Regions from separate parts of the Homo sapiens genome. Here regions 2 and 3 are each linked to region 1. The links are contacts of gene promoters, found by promoter capture Hi-C in blood cells and fetal thymus (Javierre and others, 2016). All regions are on one chromosome and are shown on one strand. Each heading gives the region's core, a stretch centred on a gene start or on the middle of the fragment in contact. The rest is flanking DNA. Distances are from core to core; before and after follow the strand shown. Region 1 holds the start of IPPK (inositol-pentakisphosphate 2-kinase). Region 2 overlaps FAM120A (family with sequence similarity 120 member A). Region 3 holds the start of PHF2 (PHD finger protein 2).

The links. The method cuts DNA at HindIII sites, captures the fragments that hold promoters and counts their contacts. A CHiCAGO score of 5 or more calls a contact.
Region 2: a fragment that was not itself captured here is called in contact with the fragment with the promoter of IPPK in region 1 in 2 of 17 cell types (total B cells and naive CD8 T cells); the score reaches 5.9 in total B cells.
Region 3: a contact is called between the fragment with the promoter of PHF2 here and the fragment with the promoter of IPPK in region 1, in 2 of 17 cell types (naive CD8 T cells and total CD8 T cells). The highest score is 7.1, in naive CD8 T cells.

The regions. Positions count from the first base shown.
Region 1 is chr9:92,668,249-92,671,978 of GRCh38, forward strand. IPPK (inositol-pentakisphosphate 2-kinase) reads right to left here and starts at 1,883. Exons shown (of 13, transcript NM_022755.6): 1 at 1,660-1,883. The coding sequence starts at 1,740. It overlaps LOC107987095 (a long non-coding RNA gene), which reads left to right and starts at 2,114. Exons shown (of 2, transcript XR_001746837.2): 1 at 2,114-2,425. RefSeq lists enhancers at 985-1,154, 1,895-2,344, 2,355-2,404, 3,159-3,453, 3,711-3,730 and a silencer at 1,675-1,854. The HindIII fragment of the contact is 1,551 bases long and covers 508-2,058 here.
Region 2 is chr9:93,461,415-93,465,371 of GRCh38, forward strand. The region is part of intron 1 of FAM120A (family with sequence similarity 120 member A); the gene reads left to right. Among named protein-coding and RNA genes, the nearest start is that of FAM120AOS, 9.8 kb to the left of the region's middle. The HindIII fragment of the contact is 178 bases long and covers 1,975-2,152 here.
Region 3 is chr9:93,574,385-93,578,126 of GRCh38, forward strand. It overlaps PHF2 (PHD finger protein 2), which reads left to right and starts at 2,200. Exons shown (of 22, transcript NM_005392.4): 1 at 2,200-2,487. The coding sequence starts at 2,390. RefSeq lists enhancers at 507-1,102, 1,103-1,697, 1,379-1,658 and silencers at 1,759-1,818, 1,929-2,228, 2,819-2,978. The HindIII fragment of the contact is 11,549 bases long and covers 1-3,742 here.

The DNA of each region.
Region 1 (3,730 bases), core at 633-3,132:
CAGAGTGAGACCCCGTTTCTAAATAAATAAATAAATAAAAATAAACAATCATTACAATCAGAGCTGTGCAACAGGGTAGGGCCAGGCTGCCCTGGAGATGCCTACTCAGGGAAGGGGGTGGACACATACTTGTCTGGAACGTGCAGAGAGATCCAAGTGCCAGAGGCAACTGCGTCAAAGCCTCTGCTCTTTCAACATGGGTGTCCTTTTGCTCCAAGCCTGAAACTTGCTGCTTCATCTGCCACTACTTTTGAAATTTAATGTATCAGCCCTCACTAAAGAAAAGTCTTAGGTTTACCTAAAATGCAGAGATACATCTAATCTTACCAAGGAATTGGAAGATTAGTATTTGTTTTGGGAAAGGATTCAGGGGATCAGCACAGTAACCCAACAACAAAAGGACTCACGCAGAAACATCCCTCACTTTGCCAATAGTGGACTACACAAGAGAAGGACAGCTTTAGGTTAGCCTGGTCCATTATTAATTCACCTAAAGATCTTGAGCAAAGCTTGTAGTCTCTGTTCTTTAGTTCCCTGTGCTAATGAGCAACAAAATCCAAAGGCACAACCTAGGGGCTACCTGGGTGTTTGCAGCTTACACTACAGCTGACCAATGCACCCAGCATAGGAACAACAGAAGCAAGGCAGGACTCCACTGCCTACATCATCCCTGACAAGCTGTTCGACTCGGGCAATGCCCTTAACCTCTCTGATTTTCACTTTATTTATCTGTCCAAGGGATGACAATTATCACTTGCTAAGCATAACTTGATGGGTTCCTGCGTAACTGGTCTTTGCAACAATCCCACAAAGTGAATTCTACTACTAGTTCCACTTCACAAATGTAGACACTGAGATTCCTGTGCCTTTAACACCCATGCTCTAACTCCTCCCTACATGACACCTATCCTCGCCTCCCTCACCCCCCTCCCCCGTTCCAGCCGGCCACATTCCTGCGTGGTTGTACCAGACAGCAAAAGGTCAGAGAGATCTGGGCCCTCACAGAAACCCACACGCTTCACTCTTGGGATTCACCTTTGCGAGATCTTACTGCAGTTTCTAAAACTTTCACCCTCGTTGAATTCAGGTGAAAGCCTTCAAATTCTAAAAGGTTGAGAAGAGGACCTGTGGACAACATCCCCTTACTATTAACAGCACAGCAATTCCGTAGTCTCACGAGGCTGAACTCTTTTGGTGCTGAGAGTAACAGCACTGTGGGCACTCTGCTTCTTCCTCCAGTGCTGGCCGGGCCCTCCGTCCCAACCAAGCCTCCACCCCACTGCGGCCTGGCAGTCCGGCGGGCATCCAGGCGGGAGGCGGCACCGCGTGAGGCTGAGCGCGGCACCGACGGGGCGGGGAGGGGGATGTGGAACTGACTCTGACGGGGAACGGGAATACTGAGGGGACGACAGACCGGCCAGGAGAAGGATCTGGGGCAATGGGAGACTGACCCAGTAGAGAGGGGATACTGGGGTGATGAGGAACCCAAGCGGTAGGGGGGGATGCTGGAGGGTGGGGGAATTCCGGAGACCGGCCGGGGAGGAGGAAGGTACTGGGGGGACGTGGAACCGACCCTGTTGAGGAAACGGATAATGGGGGCGGGGTGATACCGGCCGTCGGAGTGAGGTACCGGACCTGCGCCGCACGTCCACCGCTCACCTGCGCGTGGGCCACCACCAGGCTCTTATTGCCCTCTCCGTGGTACCCCCATTCATTCTCGTCCATCTTCCCCTCTTCCATGCCCAGGCGCAGCCCTGGCGCCTCGCGGGCTAGGACTCGGGGACGCGAGCTGGGGGCCGCCCGCCTCGCTGGGAACCAGCCGCTGCGGTCGGGGGAGGAGCGCCTGTCAGCTGCCGCCCCCGCTCGACCCCGCCGCGGCGACTAGCAAGCTGTGGCCGCCGGAAGCCACGCCCCCGGCGCCTGCCATGACGGAGTCGGGCAATTCCGGGTTCGTGACACTTTCCTCACACCGATCGCGACGGTGGATGGGCCGGCGGCCATCTTAGGTACTGGTAGAGCGACTCATTTCCGGAACGCGGTCTTGGGAGCCGGAAGAGAAGCTTCCGGCCTCGGCGCCGGATGTGTAGCTGGCGGAAGGAGCCGGCGGCTTTTCGGCGCCCGGTAGTGACCGGCAGTCCCCGGGTAGCCAGGGTGTCTGGGTGTTGGGACCGCTTAGTCGCGAGACCCCAGCAAACCTCTTGGCGTCTCTGAGCCTCAGCTTTTGCTTCTGTAGAATAGGGTGTACTCATCGTACATTTCATGGGAATACCTAACGCAGTCATTTGGATGGTCCTGTGAGGTAGAAAACATTGTCCAACGTTCTACGCGAGGAAATGTGGCTGGGCCACAGGACTGGACTCCCCAGTCCCGCTTTTGCCTGAAGACTTCGAGGGACGCAGTTGGAGCGCAAGGCTCCTGCTTGGCGGTGAGGCAGAGGGCTAACGACCTTCCTTCTCCTAAATTCACTGATGCGGCGGCAAGAATGGCACCGCCTCGTAGAGCTACCGCATTTCCCAAACTCGTAGTCTCAGGACCACTTTATACTCATAAAAATGAGGGCCCCAAGCTTTTGCTAATGTGGGTTACAGCTATCGATGTTACCACATTCTAAGTTAAAATGCTTTAAAGTTTTTTGTTGTTTCGTTTAAAAGTAAACAGCCGGGCGCGGTAGCTCACGCCTGTAATCCCAGCACTTTGGGAGGCTGAGGCGGGCGTATCACCTGAGGTCAGGAGTTTGAGACCAGCCTGGCCAACATGGTGAAACCCTGTCTCTACTAAAAATACAAAAATGAGCCAGGTATGGTGGCGCAGGCCTGTAATCCCAGCTACTCCGGAGGCTGAGGCAAGAGAATCATTTGAACCCAGGAGGCGGAGGTTGCGGTAAGCCAAGATCGCGCCATTGCACTCCAGCGTGGACGACAGAGTGAGACTCCATCTCAAAAAAAAAAAAAAAAAAAAAAGTAAACATTACATTCCACGCCCACCACCAAAATAAAGGAGTGGTATTGTTTTACACTTTTGCAAATCTTTTTAAAATCTGACCTAATAGGTTCTCACATGTGCTTCGGCATTCGGTCTGCTGCAATATATTGCATTGGTTGACATACACATTGTGAAGAACATCTGCAGTTATGTAGTTCACAAAGAGAGGACCTGCAGACCCAACTTTGAGAACGGCTGGGCACCTTGCCAGGCCTTGGGAATTGTAGTGAAATCAGGCCAGTGACTCAGGAAAATGAGCTGAAGGCTTTGAGCATCTCTTTCCTCCATTTTAGGCCTCAAAAGGGAGGCTGGGGCAGGGCATGGTGACTCATGCCTGTAATCCCAGCATTCTGGGAGGCCGAGGTGGGCGGATCGCTTGAGCTTAGGAATTCCAAACCAGCCTGGCAACATGGTGAAACCCTGTCTCTACAAAAAATTAGCAGGGTGTGGTATCTGTGCCTGTAGCCCCAGCTACTTGTAGGGCTGAGGGGCTGAGGCGGGAGGATCGCTTGTGCCCGGGAGGTTGAGGCTGCAGTGAGCCGTGATCAAGCCACTGCACTCTAGCCTGGGTGACAAAGCAAGATTCTGTCTCAAAAAAAAAAAGTGGGGGAGGCTGGGTGTGGTGGCTCACGCCTGTAATCCCAGCACTTTGGGAGGCCAAGGCGGTGGATCATGAGGTCAGGAGTTTGAGACCAGCCTGGCCAATATGGTGAAACCCCATCTCTACTAAAAATACAAAAATTAGCTG
Region 2 (3,957 bases), core at 814-3,313, 790 kb after region 1:
GCAAGTGTTACTATCTTGAAATAAATAGTATCAACCTGTGGTTCTTTTTCCTAAATTATGAAAATTGAAATTTTATGTTTTAGATTTTGGAATGGTATTTTAATAAGAATGATATTACTAGGATTTAGCTGAGTCATTAGATTACTAGAGTAGGCTAAATAGATTCTGAATACAAATAATGTGTGTGTTTCTTCCTTTTATCATTGTATTTTTTTATTTTTAAAGTTTGTAAAGTTTAATTTGCATTTCTTTTATGACATCACTCCTTTATTATTATTAATATTTTTAGAGGGAAAAATCAAGCAGTTTTATAATTCGAACATCCCAAATCTGAAATGCTCCAAAATTCAAAACTTTTTGAGCACCAGCATGATGCACAAAGGAAATGCTCACTGGAGCATTTTGGATTTTTGATTTTTGAATTTAGAATGTTCAACTGGTAAGCATAATAACAAATATTCCAAAACTTGAAAAAGCCTGAAATCCAAAACACTTCTTGTCTTAAGTGTTTCAGTAAAGGACACCTAACCTGTATTATTGAATAACCATTGAACCAGACTGTGATCACATCACAAGCAGTGTGTGCTAAAGAGATTGCGAAAGCCAAAAAGAAGTGTCACCCTTTGATACAGCCTGGCAGATACAAACTATTACATACATCCTAATTGTCGTTAATCAAAGGAAAAGGAAAACTCTGCCTTTTTACAAGTAGGAAGTTAATTTTGGAGCCAAAGCACCTAGGCCTTCTGAGAAGACAGGGAGATACCCTTCTTTTTATTATTATTGTTTCTTAAAATTGTGGTAAAATACACCTAACATAAAATTTACCAATTTAACCATTTTTAAATGTACAGTTCAGTGGCATTAAGTATATATATTTTTTTGAGATGGAGTCTCGCTCTGTCACCAAGGCTGTAGCGCAGTAGCGTGATCTCAGCCCACTGCAACCTCTGCCTCCCGGGTGCAAGCAGTTCTGCCTCAGCCTCCTGAGTAGCTGGGATTACAGGCGTGCGCCTGCCACCACACCCAGCTAATTTTTGTATTTTTAGTAGAGACAGGGTTTCACCATCTTGGCCAGGCTGGTCTTGAACTCCTGACCTCAAGTGACCCACCACCCTTGGCCTCCCAAAGTACTGAGATTATAGGTGTGAGCCACCACGCCTGTCCCCGGTGGCATTAAGTATATTCACATTGTTGTATAACCATCACCACCATCCATTCCCAGAATTTTTTCCTCATCCCAAACTGGAACTGTGTACCCACTAAACTGTAATTCCCCATTTCTTCCATGCCCCAGCTCCTGGTAACCACCATTCTCCTCTCTGTCTCTGAAGTTGTCTACCCTATGAGCCTCATATAATGAGATCGTATAGTATATGTAATTTTGTGTCTGGTTTATTGCATTTAACACAATGTCTTCAAGGTTCATACATGTTGTAACGTGTCAGAATTTCCTCCTTAAGGCTCAATAACATTCTGTTGTATTGGATAGACCACATTTTGTTTATCCATTCATCAGTGGGTGGACACTTGGGTTTCATCCTTTTTGTCATTGTAAATGGTGCTGCTGTGAACATGAATGTACCGACATCTCTTCGGACCCATTTTTTCAACCTGGAAGTGTAATTGCTGTATCTTAGGGTAGTTCTGCGTTCAGTTTTTTGAGGAATCACCATACGATTTCCCAAGAGGCCACGCTGTTTTACATTCCCACCAGCAATGCACAAGGAATCTGTTTTTCTCCATATATTCTTGTTGACATTTGTTATTTTCTTTTTTTTAAAAAAATAGTAGCCATCCTAATGGGTGTGAGGTATTCAGTGTCTCATTGTGGTTTTGATTTATATTTCTGTAATAATGAGTGAAGTTGAGCATCTTTTCATGTCCCACTCCCTTATTTTAAGAAATGTTTTTCCTTGTTTTTAAGATCACTGTACCCAATTCTCATTTATTCTAAATGAGATATATAAGATAAGCTTATTCAGCTATGATTTCAGCTTACCTGAAGAGAGAGATTTCTTTTTAGAGGCATTGCTGCTATGTGTCATAACATTTAAATTGCCCTTTAAACAGCAACAAAAATCTGCCACCAAATTGGAGTTGACTTTTTTTAATGTTCTTATTCTTCAGTTGGACTAGAGTAGGGAACAGAAGCTTCAGTGTTAGTTTTTCCCATTTCATACCTATTGACTGCCCATTGGGAAGAGGCTGAAGACTGCCTTTTTGGTAGTTGTTTTTTAAAACAAAATAATTTAGGTGGACCTATACGCTCTTATGTCAGGTTGTTTTATATCTTCTAAATCAGCTAGCTGGCTGGAGGATGTGTCACATTGTTCCCTGAACTGGTGTAAAATTATTCTGAAGAAAAACCACATTAACGGTATGTTTTCCTAGTGTCAGAAAATGTATGTATGAGAACCCATAGTGTTTCAGGTCCTGTGTGAAAAGTATAAAGAAACCTTTTTACATAGCTTCCTTAAAAGTACATAGTAACTGACATTTGTCAAGCGCTTATTATTTGTGAATGCTTCTGAGCTGTTTACATGTAGTATATTTAATCATCGCAGCTACCCTATGAGATAGAGGAATACTATTATTCTTACAGATGAGGAAATGGAAGTACAGAAAGTATTAAAGTAGGCAGTGGAGTTCACCTACCTGGTGCCAGAGACACAAACCTCATTGTAGAGTGTTTTTTCACTGGAAACTAGGAGTAAGTAACAGTGTCAAGTTTTTCTTCTTATGGGGTCTTCCTGTAGCTGTGTTTCAGAATTAATAAACAATTATACTTGCCAAGTAAGTTTGGGAGTTTTTAAGTCATTATTCTTTGTAAAAGTCCTGAGTTTTGATATATCTGCCTTTTTAATGATGAAATGTAAAACTACTGAGATAAAAAGATTTACCTAGGTATATTTGGTAAATTTATAGTGGCATAAAGTTATCATTGTAAATCGAAGTACAGAGTACTTTCTTGAGACCAGAAACGGGCCCTTTTGCCACTTCTTAAACTTGTCAACACTAATGACACCTACCATATTTCTTGGGGAGGGGGTAGACAGGGAGGAAGAAGCTGAGAAGTGTTGTGATTCCCATCCTGGCTGCCCCAGGTTAGAGTGTTGTATTGGACACTAGCCCCCTCATCACTTCACAAGAGCTGAAGCCTAATGCTCCTCGGGGTTGTTTACAGAAGGAGTTTTAGAGTTTCACTTCCTTGATCTTGAAGCCTGCATTTTGATAGAGTGGAAATGGTAGCCATGACAAAAATTAATCAAGGCCTGGTGCTTTTAAAATGGCAGATACTTTCAGTGGCTACTAGCCTGGGACTTTCAGCAAGGAGGCAGCTCATAGTTCGAAGTCTGATTTACCTCTGGTGGATGACTTTACCCCCTTTGAAGGGCTACCTGTAAGTAAGTGTTTTCAGGGCTTAATTTTTTACGTCATTTTGTTCTTCGAGGGGGTTCAAAATCAAATAATCTGAACATTGCGTTTAATAGTTTTAACCCACTTCTGAAATTAACATTAAGAACTAGAAGTACACATTTCATTGTATTATGCCCAGTCCAAGCCAGGCATTGGAAGGCCAGGGAAGAGAAGAAGCAGATAAATAAGAGTGAGAGAGTAGCTTAGTATAGGAGAAGGGAAAACAGGAAGGAGCTTCAGAAGACCAGATGAACAGCAGGGGAGCTCAAGTCTGTCAGACCAAAGCTTCAGCCCAGTACTTAACGTTTATTCTTAATTAAATAACTGCCTTGTAAGTTATTTTGATGCAACCCAGAATCTTTTTTCCATTCCCACCCAAACCTTGCATTGTATTGTCTTTTTACCCCTGCTCATATCCTTGATCAGATTTTTAACCAGGCTTTCCTTGACTTAAATCTTAAGGAATTGTTTATTGGGCCTCTTACGAATATTCTTAGTAGTTTGACTGCATTTATTCACTCATAAATTAATTGGTAA
Region 3 (3,742 bases), core at 950-3,449, 910 kb after region 1:
GGAGCTGACATCCTCTGTCTGGCTGGATGTTTAATTGCTTAGCGCCTCAGTTTTCACTTCTGTGAAATGGCACTAATACCAATACCTAAAGGCACCAAAGGAGAGTCCTGAGTATGTAGTAATTGCCATCATGACCCAGGAATTTGCTAAGCGCTTACAAACATCTGGTTAGGTACTGGTAAAACCTCGTGAAGAACTGAGCCCAGGGCACTGTCCTGGTAAAAGCATTTGCTAAATGTTGGCTAACTACTGTCACTGTTTGTAAACAGGCTAATAGGAGTGTTAAGGGATGGGGGGATGCCCACATCAGGGCAGCCTCCCCTGCATCACAGCAGCCTCTAGAAGTTTCCAGCTTCATTTGGGCACTGCTCACCTGACTACTTTAGTACTGCTGTAAGGGTGAGGGAGAGTGTATCTATCAAGGAAGTGGGCACCACTCACCTGAAACCCGCCTTTTGGGCTCTCAACCTTCAGGCTGAGCATTCTATCTACATAATAGTAGACAATGGCTTAAGAGTTACTTCTTTCCCAGAACTTCAGTATGTAAAAAAAAAAAAAAAAAAAAAATTCCAGGCTTTCACCCAGGAGGAAGGGAACCAGTGACAACCGGAATTCAGGTAGGAAGGCCTATTGCAGGCCATCCTGGCCAGTCCAGAGGTGTGGGAGCTGGGGGTCTCCTGCTCTTTCCTCTCCCTCTATGGCCAGCTACTTCTCCCCCCGCCCCCTTCCCCAGTGCCCAGTGCTTTGGGCACTGCCCTGAGTCTGTATCCACGGGGTCACTTGTTGGGGGTGGGTGGCTGACTCTGAGGGTAGATTTTGGCTCAGTAGGAGGAAGGACCTTAATTGAGCCGCCTGCGGTGGAGCAAACGGCCCCTTGGCAGCTGCAGGTGGGCGGTGATGGTGAGGGGCTGAGGGGCTAAGGAGCCTTGTCATGGATGCTGCTAGGAGACTGAGCCAGGTTTCCTGTCCGGAGATTCTGGAATTCCGAGCAGGGGTGGCCCACATTTCCCAGCACGATGCGGATTTTGCTGAGGGAGGATGGGGAGAGAAAGAGGGTGAGGGAGGAAGGGCGGGCAGGGATGTGGCCCCTGCCCAGCGCGGATGCCCCAAGGATGCAGCGCTGGCGAGGCAGGGAAGTCCTCCTCTAGAACGCGTGCAAGTGACCCCTCAGAGCGCACCTCCGCTTCTCCTCCCCACCGTGGGGGCTCAGTTCCCTGGACACGGGGGCCAGGGTTCCCATACTCCTCGCCCCTTAGGTCACGGGCCTGGGGGGCTCAAATGCCAGGGAGCTCTCTCTTGACAGAGCTGACCAGCCCGGCCCCTTAGGTCACGGGCCTGGGGGGCTCAAATGCCAGGGAACAGAGCTGACCAGCCCGTGCCAGCGCACTCCCGGCCCGGGCTTCTGTCCTCTTCCTCTGGGGCTGAGCATCAGGGAAGTCCGCGGGATCCTGCGAGGGAGGCGGCAGTCCCCAGCCGAAAATGAGGGGAAAGAGGAAGTGGTGTCCCAACCAGAAACTCAGTGGGGAACGGAGGGAGGCAGCGCGGCCGAGGAGGAGGAACACCCCCACCGTGGTGGGGGTCAGAAGAAAGTTAGGGCCAAGTATTTGCTTGTCGGCCTTCTAGACTAGGAAGGCTCTCCTGCGGGCTCCACTCCCGCACCCCGCGTCTCTCCTTCTGCCTTGCCCGGGTTCCCCCAACTTATCTTATCCTCGGGGTCCCGCCCACCTTCTCCCCGGGGTCCCACCCCACTTTCAGTCTCAAGGCTCCCCCAGCTCACCTTCGCGCCCGCGGACCCCTGGGTCTACCTTCAGCCTTGGGGGCCCTTCTCGGCCTATCTTCCACCTTCGAGATCCCCCCACCCGCCTTCTCCCCCGGCAGGGTCCCCCCGGCCGTCTTCTCCCCCGGCAGGGTCCCCCAACCCACCTTCTCCCCCGCAGGGTTCCCCAGCCCGCCTTCCCGGCGGCGGGAGCGGCGGCCCAGGCCGGCGGGCGGAGGCGGCGCCACCCGGGGCGCTGACGTAGAGGCCGCTCGGCGGCCGGGGGTCCCTTCGGTGGGGCCGCGGCTCCCCGCCCGCCGCCCCCGCGCGTCCATTCCCTTTTGTGTCCCGCGCGCGGCCCGTCCCCCGCGCACACTAGCGCCCTGAGCCCCGCGGGCCGGCGGGCGGCTCCCGGCGCGGCCCCTCCAGCCAGCGCGCCCGGCATTGTGTGGACGCGCCTGGCCGGGAGCGCGCGCGGGGGCTGTCGTGCGCCCCCGTCCCCGTCCCCTCCCGGCCGCGGCGCCGCCTGCGCCCCGCCGCCCCCGCCGCCCCCGCGCGGCCCGGCCCCCGGCCCGGCCCGGACCGACCCGGGCAGCGCAGCGGCGGGGCCGAGCGGCGGCGCGGCGCGGCAACATGGCGACGGTGCCCGTGTACTGCGTCTGCCGGCTCCCCTACGACGTTACCCGCTTCATGATCGAGTGCGACGCCTGCAAGGACTGGTTCCACGGCAGGTGAGCGCGCGGCGGCTGCTCGGCTCGGCCCGGCCCGGCCCGGCCACCTTGCCCGACCGAGCCCCGCGCCCCCGGCTGCGCGCCCGCAGGCCCGGCTCGGGGACGGGCCGCCGCCGCCGCCGCCGCATTCCGGGCGCCCCGGTCGGGGCTGGGCCGTGCCGGGCCGCGCGCCCTTTTGTGCCCAGGGCGGGGGCGCCAAGCACGGGGCCCGCGCTGGGCGCCCCTGGCCGCCGCGCACAAAGCGAGGCCCGCGGGCCGGGAGGTGGGCTCGGGGCTCGGGGCGCGGGGAAGTTGGGGCTCCAGGCCCGGGCCGGGCCGCCTGTCAGCTGGGTCGCGGCGGCCGCAGAGGCCGGGCATCCGGAGGGAGGCCGAGGCCCGGAGCCCCCGCCGCCTCCCCCCTGCGAAGTTGCAGGAACTTTCCCCGCGCGGGCTCGGGGTTGGCCGGGCCGGGAGAAGCGGGCGCGCAGCCCGGCGCGGGTCCCGGGAGAGGCGCGAGTGGCGGGCTCCGACTCCGGCAGGGCTGGGGAGTCCGTGGGGGCTCCGGCGAGGTGGCAGCCGGCGCGCCCACCCTCCGCCGTGGCCGGCGAGCTCCCTTGGACCTTGTCCCCGAGGGCAGGACCCCTCCCGGACCCCCGCGGAGCAGCTAGACCCGGCAGGCCTGCAGGTCCGCGGGCAGGAGTGCGGTGACAGAATAGTGTCTGTGAGTTGGGTAAGGGGGGTTTGTTGTGGCTTTGCCACCTCCTCCCTGGCCTTCAGTTTTCCCCGTTTCTCTCCTCTCCGTTCCCGGCAGGAACGCCGGTTTTGACATGATCTTATGCTCCCTAAGGAAGATGGGGAGGGGGGAAGGAGGTAACGCTTGGAGACACTGAAAACCCCCGCCCTCTTGGCCCTTGCCGATGGCCATGACCTGGCCCCATGCCTAGGGCAGGTCCCTTCCCACCAAGAAGTAAATGGAGGAGGAGGAAGAGGAGGTGACAGTGTTGCCCAAACTGCTCCAACAGGTTCTCTTGCATCTGACTTTGCCTGTGGGATGTGTTTGGACCCGGGGCTGGCCAGGGCTGTATGCCCTCTGGGGCTCCAGTCCCAAACCACCGGCAGCAAGCAGCCGGGGGAAAGAGAGGGGTGTGTGGTGGTGGGTGGTCCGGGATTCTCCTTCCAGAGAGGAGATCCTCCTGCAGGTTCTAAGACTGGGTCTTCAAGACTGGTCAGTGGTGCTTAAGAGTGGGCTGTGGCCCCAAGTCCAGTCCTGCCAGTT